Regions from separate parts of the Homo sapiens genome. Here region 1 is linked to region 2. The links are contacts of gene promoters, found by promoter capture Hi-C in human tissues and cell types (Jung and others, 2019). All regions are on one chromosome and are shown on one strand. Each heading gives the region's core, a stretch centred on a gene start or on the middle of the fragment in contact. The rest is flanking DNA. Distances are from core to core; before and after follow the strand shown.

Region 1 (6,711 bases), core at 2,173-4,672, 570 kb after region 2:
TAAATTATATGTTAAAAAAATTGGTAAGCACTACAGAGAAAAAAAAAACAGCTTGAGAAAGGGGGTCAAGACTGCTGGGAAGGTGGTGGATTGTAATTTAAATAGGTTGGTGAGAGTGGTGCCCACTGAAAAGACCACATTTAGAAAGGAAAAACCGGAGAAGTTGGCAGATAGGATTTATCTGGAAGAAGATGCTGCCAGGCAGAGGAAGTACCCAGAGTTAGGACCCTTAGAGAAGCATGCCTTAGCTAGGCATGGTGGCTCATGCCTGTAATCCCAGCACTTTGGGAGGCTGGGGTGGGAGGACTGTTTGAGCCCAGAAGTTCGAGATCAGCCTGGGCAACATAGTGAGACCACCAACTCTACTAATAAAAAAATTTTTTAATTAGCTGGGCGTGGTGGTGCGTGCCTATAGTTCCAGCTACTCGGGAGGCTGAGGTGGACGGACCACTTGAGCCCAGAAGGTCGAGGTTGCAGTGAGCTTTGATCACACCACTGCACTCCAGCCTGGGCAATACAGCCAGACCCTGTCTCAAATTTGTAAAAGGAGCACACTTGGCATGTCCGAGGGACTTGAGAACACTGATAATAAGGAGACAGTGACTGGCAATGAGGTCAGAAGGTAAGGGGGCAGGGGATATGGGGTAAGCAGCAGATCCTGTGGGACCCTCAGGCCTTGTAAGGACTCTGGCTTTTAAGGTGAGTGAAATGGGATGTGTGGAAAGGTTCTGAGAAGTGTGAGGTGATCACCAACATATGGTCGGCGCTCCATATCCACTGGGGATTAGCTCCTGGACCCCAGCAGGTATCAAAATCCACGGATGCTCAAGTCCCTGACATAAAATGCCATAGTACACTCAGCCCTCCGTGTTGGCAGGTTTTGATCCCCGGTTAGTTGAATCTGAAAATGGGAAACTCGCAGTAAGAAGGGCCTACTGTACCATGGAATTTTCTTATTTTTTCTCTATCTTTGTCTCTAGATTGTAAGCTCCATAAAGGAAAGGATTTTTCTATTTTGTTCACTGATATAACCCCACGTTGAGTACTTGGGAGGACCCTCAAAACATCTTGCTGGAAGAATGGCCAGAAGACGACCTTATACCTCCTCCTTTCTCACCAGGCGGCCTCTGCATCTAGTGCATCCTTTCATTTGGCAACCACTTTGAAGAAGACAAATTCCATTTCAAATGAAGCATCCCACTAAATACTCCCTTTGGACAACTAAGAGAAAATGATTTAACATCAAGTTGTATTGGCTTCCTTTCCTCCTTCTAGACCGTAAGCTGTTTCTGCTGGAAACAAGGAGGAGGAAACCACATTAACGAGGCTACAAGCAAGGGCAGTCCTGTGTGAGCTATGTAGAACTAGGAATGTCTATCGTGAGAACATAAATTCAACATGTTAATATGGCCACTAGGCAGTGAGCTGCATAGGTGACCACAAAAGCTACCACTAGCTACACCACTGCCCAGTCCCATAAGCTGCAACAGAATGGGAGATTTAAGTGCTTCTACTCAGAGCAACCTGGGCACATCAGGGCTCTATCACAAAGAGTTAAGAACCAGGAAAGCACTCTACTTAGAAGGTATGGCTTGATTCCCAAATGAGAAAACTACCAGCTGGGCTATCCAAAGAAACTGTGACCCACCTACACAGCAGCTATTAAAACTGAGATCCTGCCTGAAATAAGAAAGACCTACATACATAAAAAAAATTAATCAAAAAACCACATGTGCACACCTCAGAGCAAGTAGGCTTTATTATTCTAGCGTTTTCCTTTTCCAAGTAACAATAATAATAGTTAACATTTAAGTAGTGCCTTCTTTGTGATAGGCACTCTTCCAAGAGCTTAAGATACAATATTTAGCTTAATCTTCCCAATACCCTGTGCAGTAAGAACTTACCCCTGTTTCAAAGATAAAGATTAAACTGAGTCACAGAGTGTGCGCCCAAGGCCATTTAGTTTAAAAAGCAGCAGGATCAGGCTGGGTGTAGGGGCTCATGCCTGTAATCCCAACACTATGGGAGGCCGAGGTGGGTGGATCATTTGAGGTCAGGAGTTTGAGACCAGCCTGGCCAACATGGTGAAACCCCTTCTCTACTAAAAATACAAAAATTAACCAGGCGTGGTGGTGGGTGCCTGTAATTCCAGTTACTCAGGAGGCTGAGGCAGGAGAATCACTTGAACCTGGGAGGCGGAGATTGCAGTGAACCAAGATTGAGCCATCACACTCCACCCTGGGTGACAAGAGCGAAACTTCATCTCAAAAAAAAAAAAAAAAAAAAGTAGCAGGATCAGAGTTTGAACAAGAGCCAGTACTATTAACTCTATGCCATCAGGTCAAGACCTGGATCTCATCAGAAGGGAGGCTCCTCTAATCTCCATCATAAAATAACATAACTACAGCAAAGAAAATTAGATGTACTCCTCAGGATATGTTTAAGCCTTAGAAATGAAGACAAGGTGGTCAGAGACAGTGAGTCCTCCTCGGGAGAAGCAGTAGAGACCATCTGCTGACCAAATACAGATTTCCGAGGAGGGGTGAATCCCCATGGGGCATTATTCCTTGACATCATAGGCTCTGCCCACTCCAATCCCACACAACTTATCCAGCTGGGCAACAGTGATGCCATCCAGTGAGCACCTAATCAAAATTTTAAAGGTTACAGGAAAAGTATAAGAGGTTATAGATATTTGGGAAGTGAAACAGGCATATATAGAAAGTGCCTCAAATCTCTGTTACAGAAAGCTTCTAAAGGATCTCAGAATATAAATTCCTTTTGGCAAAAGCTACTGTACTTATAACCACAGACAAGATAGTTGAAGGCACAAAGGTGAGGTCCACACAACTTGACATACAGGAGAAAGGGCACCAGCTTAACAGTATGTGGGGTAGGTAGGAACAGTTCTACTTACTAGCAACGTGACTTTGAATAAGTCACTTCGCTTACCTGTCCTTCAAGTTTCCGTATCTCTAAAATAGACTAAGTCCTGTCTTATAGACTAATAGACCTGCCCTGATCACCTTAACAAGTTGCTGCAGTAATACCATTTTATTCATTTTAAAAAATCAGGAGAGGCTCTGTAGACCAAGTATCTCCACAGCAATGTCTACCACTCCAAGCAATAAAAGTCTATAAAACAAAAAAGACTACGATGTAAGCCAATGCTCTCGTCGTTGAGCAGTTATAAGGATAAACTGCAATTAGCCAGACCATCAATGAACTATAGACGAAGAGATTCAAGTTGTGATCAGTTGAAGGTAACTGTGCCATAGAAAGTCAGTTTTAGTCTGTATTAACAATAACAGGCTGGGGGCAGAGGCTCACGCCTGTAATCCCAGCACTTTGTGGGGCCGAGGGGGGCAGATCACCTGAGGTCAGGAGTTCGAGACCAGCCTGGCCAACATGGGGAAACTCCATCTCTACTGAAAATACAAAAATTAGCTGGGTGGGGTGGCGGGCACCTGTAATCCCAGCTACTCAGGAGGCTGAGGTAGGAGAATCGCTTGAACCCGAGAGGCAGAGGTTGCAGGGAGCCAAGATTGCGCCACTGCACTCCAGCCTGGGCAACAACAGCAAGACTCCATCTCAAAAACAAAACGAAACAAGAACAAAAAAAAAAAAGAAAAAAGAAAAAAAATTAAGGCTAATTGAGTTAGTAAATTAAATGGGACTTTTCTACCACGATGGACACACCCTGAGAGATACATCAAAATGAACATAATTTCCAACTACCTGCTCAGGTGGTCTCTTTTTTTCCCAAATGACTTGTAAATATACATAAGGGAAGGAGGGTTCATTTGGTCCTCAAAATATTTCCTCTAAAGAACACTGCACTATAAAAAATGCTAATGTGAACAACAAAATTTTCAGATGACTCAATGGGTGGCCACACATTTCTAACATATAACTCAGCTTGACACTTTCCTAAGTCATTTCTTTGCCTATTATTAGGACCCTTATGACAAAAACGTCCCTCCTCTGAGTGTAGCTGGGTTGCATTTGTAAACCAATCTATCTGTCCTATCCTTACCCTATCCCTGCCACGCTTTCAAAATTCTCATCTTCCCTTGCAAGAGGACAGTACTCTGCATCATTCCCATTACTCTTCTTGGTTCAGTTAGTGGATAATCGTCTTTCACAGGCAAGGGAAAGTTCACAGTAACATTAATGTGATGATTTTGCCCCCTCTATACTTTAGTAAAGTTGTATTTATCCTTCTTATGTGCATGGCATGCTCAAAATTAACCAGAATGACTCTAAAAGGCTTGGTCAAAGCAGCTGAAATACCACAAATAATTCTGCTTGTGTGAAGTGAAACACTGCTGTCAACCTGCCGGGCATGGTGGCTCACGCCTGTAATCCCAGCACTTTGGAAGGCCGAGGCGGGCGGATCATGATGTCAGGAGATCGAGACCATCCTGGCTAACACAGTGAAACCCCGTCTCTACTAAAAATACAAAAAATTAGCCGGGCGTGGCGGCAGGCGCCTGTAGTCCCAGCTACTCGGGAGGCTGAGGCAGGAGAATGGCATGAACCCAGGAGGCGGAGCTCGCAGTGAGCCGAGATTGGGCCACTGCACTCCAGCCAGGGTGACACAGTGAGACTCCATCTCAAAAAATAAATAAATAAATAAAAATTAATTACATCATATATCTTCATAATGTTCCAATAAAAGCATATCAAAGCTACCAGTTTTATACTTATGAAATTCTACCTGGAATTTCAGAATCTCACCATTTCTTTTTCTTAAATGGTTAAATGAGATGGAAAAAGATATATAAGCAATAAAATAAGGGCCAGGCACAGTGACTCATGCCTGTAATTTCTACACTTTGGGAGGCTGAGGCGGGAGGACCACTTGAGTCCAGGAGATTGAGGCCAGCCCAGACAACACAGCAAGACCCCATCTCTACAAAATTAAATTAAAAAATTGGCCAGGTGTGGTGGCACGTGCCTATAGTCCTAGCTACATGGGAGGCTGAGGTGGGAGGAATCCTTGAGCCCAGAAGCTTGAGGCTGCAGTGAACTATGATTGTGCCACTGCCCTCCAGCATGGGTGACAGAGGGAGATCTTGTCTCAAAAAAAAAAGAAAAGAAAAAAGATTACGCAAATTATACAACATTTAAAATGATTCGAGGTAATGACATAGCAAATCAATGAATACAACAGGAAAATCCAGACAGGCTATCATCAATAGGTTAAAAATGAGAGATGGGCTGGGCACAGTGGCTCACGCCTGTAATCCTAGCACTTTGGGAGGCCGAGGCAGGCAGATCATGAGGTCAGGAGTTTGAGACCAGTCTGACCAACATAATGAAACCCTGTCTCCACTAGAAATACAAATATTAGCCGGGTGTGGTGGCGCACACCTGTAATCCCAGCTACTCAGGAGACTGAGGCAAGAGAATCTCTTGAATCCGGGAGGCGGAGGTTGCAGTGAGCCAAGATCGCACCACTGCACTCCAGCCTAGGCGACAGAGCAAGACTCCATCTCAAAAATAAATAAATAAATATGAGAGATGGTATTCTGTTGAGGGCAAGAGCATGTGGGAGAGGTAGGATCTATGATTTTAAAATGATAGGCTATGAGGTACCTGTTAAAATATAGTTAAAAGACCCAAAAATAAGAGTATGGAAACAACTGCAGGCTGGGGAAGAAAACAAAACAAAACAAAATCCCTGGCTCACTGTTCAAGGACCAAGCTATAACAATATTTAAAAAGCCAATCAAGAGAACTCCAGACCAAGAGATCCTCCAAGGTATCCTCAGCTCTCTTTGCCAGCAGAGGTGAGGGGATGGGGATGAGGAGGCAGCATGCGCGGGGCCATCAAGCTAACCTGAATGAATCATTCAATAAACATTTGTTATTTGCCTTTTATGAACCAGGAACTATACCAGGTACTGGAGAGATGCAGTCTTTGTCTCCAAAAGCTTAGCCTCTTGAGGACACACACATCTAAATAACTGTAATTCACTAAAGAGGATGCAGCAGTGCCATAAGAGCACACACAGGGCCAAGAACAATCCTCAGAGCTCCACGTCGACAGCATCAGTGCCGACACAGTCCCCTCCCTTGACAAAATGAGCCACGTATTCACAGGCACTTCTGCTGCATTTGTCCAGTGAGCTCATCATGCGGCCAAAAGTGAAAATGTGGACTCTTTAGGAGTCAGATGCAACAGTATAGGGTCAGAGGAGATGTCACTAACAGCTTTCCAAAATCATGAGCCACCAGTGTCACTCTAACAGTTATCTCCCTTCCACACACACAAACCCCATTGTGTTTCTCAGTAACAACAAAAAAATAGAGTTCAACTTGGGTGGAGATCAAATCTGAACTCAGAGTTCCTTCCTCAGTTCCTTATTGGCAAAATATGTATAAACAATCTCTTTAAAATGTTACTACCTGAGAATGTTTCTGAACGTCATGGCAGCATTCCCCCAAAGGTGTCATCGCCTTGACAAAGGAGAAATGAACCACAAAAAAACTTACACTCTAGCTTTCTATTAAAATACATAATACAAATACTATTCAAGTGGTTCTACTACTAGAAATGAACTACTTGTTTTCCCCCCCGCCCCCCCGAGATGGAGTCTTGCTCCATCACCATCCGGGATTGCAGTAGCTCAATCTCAGCTCACTGCAACCTCCACCTTCCGAGTTCAAGCAATTCTCCTGCCTCAGCCTCCTGAGTAGCTGGGA
Region 2 (5,995 bases), core at 3,116-5,615:
CTAATTTTTGTATTTTTAGTAGAGACAGGGTTTCACCATGTTGGCCAGACTGGTCTCAAACTCCTGACCTCAGGCGATCCACCCACCTTGGGCTCCCAAAGTGCCGAGATTACAGGTGTGAGCCACACCAGGCCAGAAGCAAGAATCTATTCTTCAAAGCCCAAGAGGCAAGGAACGGGGGCTGCACTGCAGGAACTGGGAATATCCCTTTTGGCTCTGCATCCCTTGTTTTCTAAAATGAAACACTTGCAGGAACCTCCCATTTGATCTTACTGCCTCCTCTCTCTTTCTGGTGTATCCTAAAAGGACTGTCAGATCCACCTTCATGAAACCAACATCTGACCAAATCACAACTCTACCAAGAAGGAAGACAGGAAGACAGAAAAGCAGGAGGTAGTGACAGAATGAAGAGGGAAGCTTTCAACATTATCTTACAGAATAATGTCCAAACTCCTTATTCCAAGCCTCTAACTGGCAGTGCCAGTTGGTGTATTTTTAGCTTCATCTCCTGCCACTCCAACCCCACAGTGCCTCTGCTTCCTACATTCCAGGGATCCCTCAGAGCAGGTACTTTATTCTTCCGCGCCTTTATTTCTGCTTTTCCTTCTGCCTGAAATGGCCTGCACTCCGTCAAAATCAGATTAAGATTTTAAACTTCAGTTTAAGTGAACTTTCCCTAAGACATCCCTAACCACTCATTCAAAATTAAGCCTTCTCTCTCCTGTGGTCCCACAGGACTTCCTGCCTCTATCCTAGCACTTGTCACCCTGGAGTCAGAAGACCTGGGTCAAACTCCAGCTCTGCCATATAAAAGCTGAATGAATTGGGGGGGATTTCTACTGATACCTCTGAGGCTGTTTCCCTTTTTCTTCTTCTTCTTCTTTTTTTTTTTTTTTTTTTTTTTGAGATGGAGTCTTGCTCTGTTGCCAGGCTGGAGTGCAGTGGCACGATCTTGGCTCACTGCAACCTCTGCCTCCTGAGTTGAAGTGATTCTCATGCCTCAGCCTCCCGAGTAGTTGGGATTATTGGCATGTGCCACCACACCCAGCTAGTTTTTGTATTTTTAGTAGAGATGGCATTTCACCATATTGGCCAGGATGGTCTCAATCTCCTGACCTCATGATCTGCCAGTCTCGGCCTTCCAAAATGCTGGAATTACAGGTGTGAGCCACCGCGCCTGGCCTGTTTCCTCTTTTGTAAAAATGGGATACTTAAGATTTACCTTGTCGTATACAATAAGATAATGTATGCAAAACTCTTACACATGTAACATATTTACATTTTAAATATGTAAACGGTTAAAAGTTTCTACTCCACTAAAATGTAAGGTCCCAGGGAATAGGAATTTTAAAATGAAAAATTTTCCTTTTAAAATAATACTTACAGGCTGGGTGTGGTGGTTCCCGCCTGTAATCCCAGCACATCGGGTGGCTGAGGCAGGCAGATCACTTGAGGACAGGAGTTCGAGACCAGCCTGGACAAAATGGCAAAACCCCATCTCTACAAAAACACAAAAAATTTGCCAAGCATGGTGGCACACGCCTGTCATCCTAGCTACTCGGGAGGCTGAGGCAGGAGAATTGTTATGGGAGGTGGAGGATGCAGTGAGCCGAGATTGTGCCACTGCTCTCCAGCCTGGGTGACAGAGCGAGACTTTGTCTCAAAAAAAATAAAAATAAATACACAAATAAAAATTAAAAATAAACTCTTACAGAATAGTTGCAAAGGTATACAGAGAATTCCCATATATTCTTCACCCAATTTCCCCTACTGTTAACATCTTAAATAACCATGGTACATTTATCAACAATAAGAAATTAACATTGATAAAATACTATTAGCTAAACTGCAGACTTTATTCTCATTCTTACAACAGTTTTTCAACTCATGGCCCTTTTCTGTTTCAGGATCCAATCCAGAATCCCATACTGCATTTAGTTGTCATCTTCTTAGTCTCTACAATCTGTGACAGTTCCTCAGTCTTTCCTTGTCTTTTATGATCTTGACATTTTTGAGGAGCACTGGTTATTTTGTAGAAGTAGAAAAACCCTCCATATGAATTTTTCTGATGTTTTCTCATGATTAGATTGAGGTTACAGGTTTGGGAAGCATACCACAGAGCTAATGTGCCCTTCTCCACATCAGGGGTTCCATCATAACAACATGGCTTATTACTGGTGATAAAAGAGGGGTTTTTTGTTTGTTTGTTTGTTTTTACCGATTCTCACTCTGTTGCCCAGGCTGAAGTGCGGTGGTGTGATCTTGGCTCACTGCAATCTCTGCCTCCTGGGTTCTAGTGATTCTCCTGCTTCACCCTCCCAAGTAGCTGGAGTTACATGCAGGCACCATCACGCCTGGCTAATTTTTGTTTGTTTGTTTTGAGACAGAGTTTCGCTCTGTAGCCCAGGCTGGAGTGCTGTGGTGCGATCTCAGCTCACCACAACCTCTGCCTCCTAGGTCCCGGTTCAAGAAATTCTCCTGCCTCAGCCTCCCGAGTAGCTGGGATTACAGGAACGCACCACCATGCCCAGCTAATTTTTGTATTTTTAGTAGAGACAGGGTTTCACCATGTTGGCCAGGCGGGTCTTGAACTGCTGACCTCAGGTGATCGCCCGCCTTGGCCTCCCAAAGTGCTGGGATTACAGGCGTGACTCACCACACCCGGCCTAATTTTTGTATTTTTAGTAGAGATGGAGTTTCACCATGTTGGCCAGGCTGGTCTCGAACTCCTGACCTCAAGTGATCCACCCACCTCGGCCTCCCAAAGTGCTGGGATTACAGGCGTGAGTCACCACGCCCGGCCCATCTTTGCTTAAATTATAAACTCAGTTTCTCCCACAGTTAGTTCAGCCTATGCTCAGGAATGTACAAGGACAGCTTGGAGGTTAAAAGTAAGATGGAGTTGGTTAAGTTAGATCTCTTTCACTGTCTCAGTCATCATTTTGCGAAGGCAAATTCACAAGTGGGAAGAAAGGACGGGTAGATGCAGGGCAGAGAGAGGGCTCTGTGCTTCGAGCCTGGATGATACAGATTTGGCAATACTATTCTAAGGAGAGACCAGAGAAAGAAGTTTAGGGTAGAAGGTAATTAATTAGAGTATGTTGAATTTGTCTTGCAGAAAAACCCTGTGAAGGAAACCTCTGGGAGGCTGTTGTAAATGCTGGGCTGGGGATGGGGTGGGTCTAGAGATCCAGATTTGAAGCAATTTCTAGTCTATTGATAGCTGAAGCTCAAGAAGAGAGTTAGATGAGCAGAGGTGAAGAGAGAAGAGGACATCAGACTCTTGAGTAAATTCAGCTTAAGCTCAGGGAGGAGTAAGAAAGGGAGACAGTGAAGGAAGCAGATAAGGAATATTGGGAAGCTGGACAAACAAGAACTGGGTAGTTGACAATACCAATGAAGAGGGAAGAGGAGAGGACTTTAATTCTTTCGGAGATGCCAGATGAGAAAAAATTAAGAAATGAGTGAGAAAAAAATGATGGAGTGATTAAACATCTATGTTGCTTTCCTTTGAGAATGTTAACTATGAAAAGAAGAAAAGGGTGGTGGTGGCTGCAAACCATAGGAAGGCTGAGAAAGGGTTTTACTTTGGTTCTGCCTCTAATCCCTGACGCATTCAACCTCCTCAAGCCATTTGCTTGTAAACATAACTGGCATAAATAATATCTGATATGCCCATTTTACAGGACAAGTGCTTCCCTCTCAGACCACATACTCGAGGACAGCGGCCGTCCACGCCTTATTTACATTCATCTTCCCAACACAACAGTCATTTGGAAGATGCCGAGTGGCGTGGGAAGAACAAGCGGGAACGAGCGCCGACCCGCCCGCGGCCTGACTGCTAGCGCACCGCTGTGCGGCCGCCTCACCGCGCACTCCCTCCTGAATTATTCACCACCGAGACGAGGACGGTGATCGCCCCCATTCCACAGAGGACACGGAGTGAAGGCGCAGTCACAGGCCCAAAGCCCCCAGTCGGCGGGTCTTGGAAATGGACGACTTTTTCACTCAAAAGCTACGAGGCAACAAAGCATGTGGATGAGGAGGGAAGGGAGCCGGGGCCAATAATTCATCTCAAAGTAAAAGACGTCCCCGGGGGTGGGGAACAAACAAACAACAAAACCCGGCTCTGTGCTTCCGCGCTTGCGCTCTCCTAGGTCTGCCAGGCTGCCGCCCGCGCCTAGGCCAGAGTCTCAGTGCGCCTGCGCCGAGCCCGACTTCCGCCAGGGCTCGATTGGCTTCCAGGCTACTTCTCCCGGCCCAGGGAGGGCCTGCGCTGTGGCTAGAGAAGGGAGTCTGGTGACTGGGTGCGCGTGCTGATGACGAAATCGGAAGTGCCCGGAGCAGAGGCGGGACCAGAACCTAGAGGGCCTCGGGATTGCGGAAGTTTGGTGGGGAGGGTCGGAGCTCTGGTGGAGAGAGTGTTGTCTAAAACAAGTTCCGGAAGGGAGGCTGCCCTTCGCGGTCCGAGAACCACCGGCCTCCCCAGTTTGAGGGCTGTTACCCCGTGCGCGCTTCGACGTTGCTGCTGTTGGCTCTCCTCGCCCCTCGTTCCCTTGGGAACCGCCTGGGAACTCCGCCATGTCATCCACTTCGCCCAACCTCCAGGTATCATTGCTCATCTCCCGTCCCCCTAGGGAGCTGGGATCGAGGGGAGGCGCGAGAAGCGGGTGGGGGGCGGGGAGAAGGGAGGAAGCGGCCGCGCCTGTGGTCGAGGCGCAGGAGGGCGGGTCCGGGGACCTGCAGCAGGTGGGAGAGGGGCCCGTTTTCCAACGGAAAGGTCGTTTCTGGCCCGCTCTTGGGGTCTCCCGAGCTACTGGCTTTGTGAGACTCTTCACTTTTGTTGACACTTCCCGCTTCCAAACCAGCCAAGATCTGGGCAGGTTTCTCCAATCAGGGTTAACGGAGAAAGAAAGAACGTAATTTTTGCAAAGCCCTATTCTGGACCAGTTGAAGATAGGGTGGTCATAGTTCGGTCTTAGTTTCTCAAGCTGACAGCAGACCCCTTCATTCTGAGCTGTCAGGTGAGTAGAGATATGGGAACAGACCAAGAATCTGAGATTACAGCCAGCCTGCATGCAATCTCCGTGAAGTCATTGAATTTATGTGCACACTCCTGTGGCTCCCAGATGGTAGTGTGTAAGATCGAGGAGTATTCTTAAACCTCTGTGTGGCTCCACTTCCCCTCCTCTACCGCAATGAGCACAGTGTTTTGTACACAAATCATGGAATCTTAAGATTTTAGGCTTAATCGTTAGTCCTCTGTGGAATGGAATTCGTTCAGAAAAGAAATTTCTTAATGTAATGGTGTCTCCCATCCCCAGAATGGATCTAGGGCTTCAGTGGCGTTTAGAATGTAATGTGGCTTAATGTAGAGGACTCCCAGTCCAGTAAGTCAATAAGGCACAAAAGAGTAGCCTAAAATACTTGTATTGAGTCCCCGTCGTGGACTTCCGGTAGTTTGTTGAACAAGCAGTTATTGGAGTGCCTGACAGAGGCATCAAAGGTAATGGAAGAACTCCTTAACCCATGATAATTGATTCTGAAGAAAGACCACTCAAAGTAGACCCACTTAAACAGAGATTAAAATTTCACACACACATACACAAAAAGAGTGGGAAAGGAGGCTTGCTTGGGACTTTCATCTTGAAAATCGACCTAGAAGATTATTAAAATAATTGTTATCTTTCACAAAATATTATAATTGTATAATTGCAACAATGACTCATTTTGTGGAATAAGTCAAGTGTTGATTTGTCTGTGTTTTTTTCCTTTTCTTTTCTTTCTTTTTTTTTTTTTTTTTGAGACGGAGTCTTGCACGGTCGCCCAGGCTTGAGTGCAGTGGCGTGATTTCAGCTCACTACAACCTCCACCTCCCAGGTTCAAGCGATTCTCTTGCCTCAGCCTCCTGAGTACCTGGGACTACAGGCACCCACCACCACGCCCAGCTAATTTTTGTATTTTTAGTAGTAGAGATGAGGTTTCACCATGTTGG

What was found. The method cuts DNA at HindIII sites, captures the fragments that hold promoters and counts their contacts. A contact is called where the count stands out against the background at its distance.
Region 1: a contact is called between a fragment that was not itself captured here and the fragment with the promoter of VPS4B in region 2, in 1 of the 25 tissues and cell types used here (dorsolateral prefrontal cortex).

The regions. Positions count from the first base shown.
Region 1 is chr18:62,850,269-62,856,979 of GRCh38, reverse strand. The region is part of intron 3 of PHLPP1 (PH domain and leucine rich repeat protein phosphatase 1); the gene reads right to left. Among named protein-coding and RNA genes, the nearest start is that of PHLPP1, 140 kb to the right of the region's middle. The HindIII fragment of the contact is 4,110 bases long and covers 1,368-5,477 here.
Region 2 is chr18:63,420,846-63,426,840 of GRCh38, reverse strand. It overlaps VPS4B (vacuolar protein sorting 4 homolog B), which reads left to right and starts at 4,365. Exons shown (of 11, transcript NM_004869.4): 1 at 4,365-4,608. The coding sequence starts at 4,582. RefSeq lists an enhancer at 4,198-4,497. The HindIII fragment of the contact is 11,812 bases long and covers 1-5,995 here.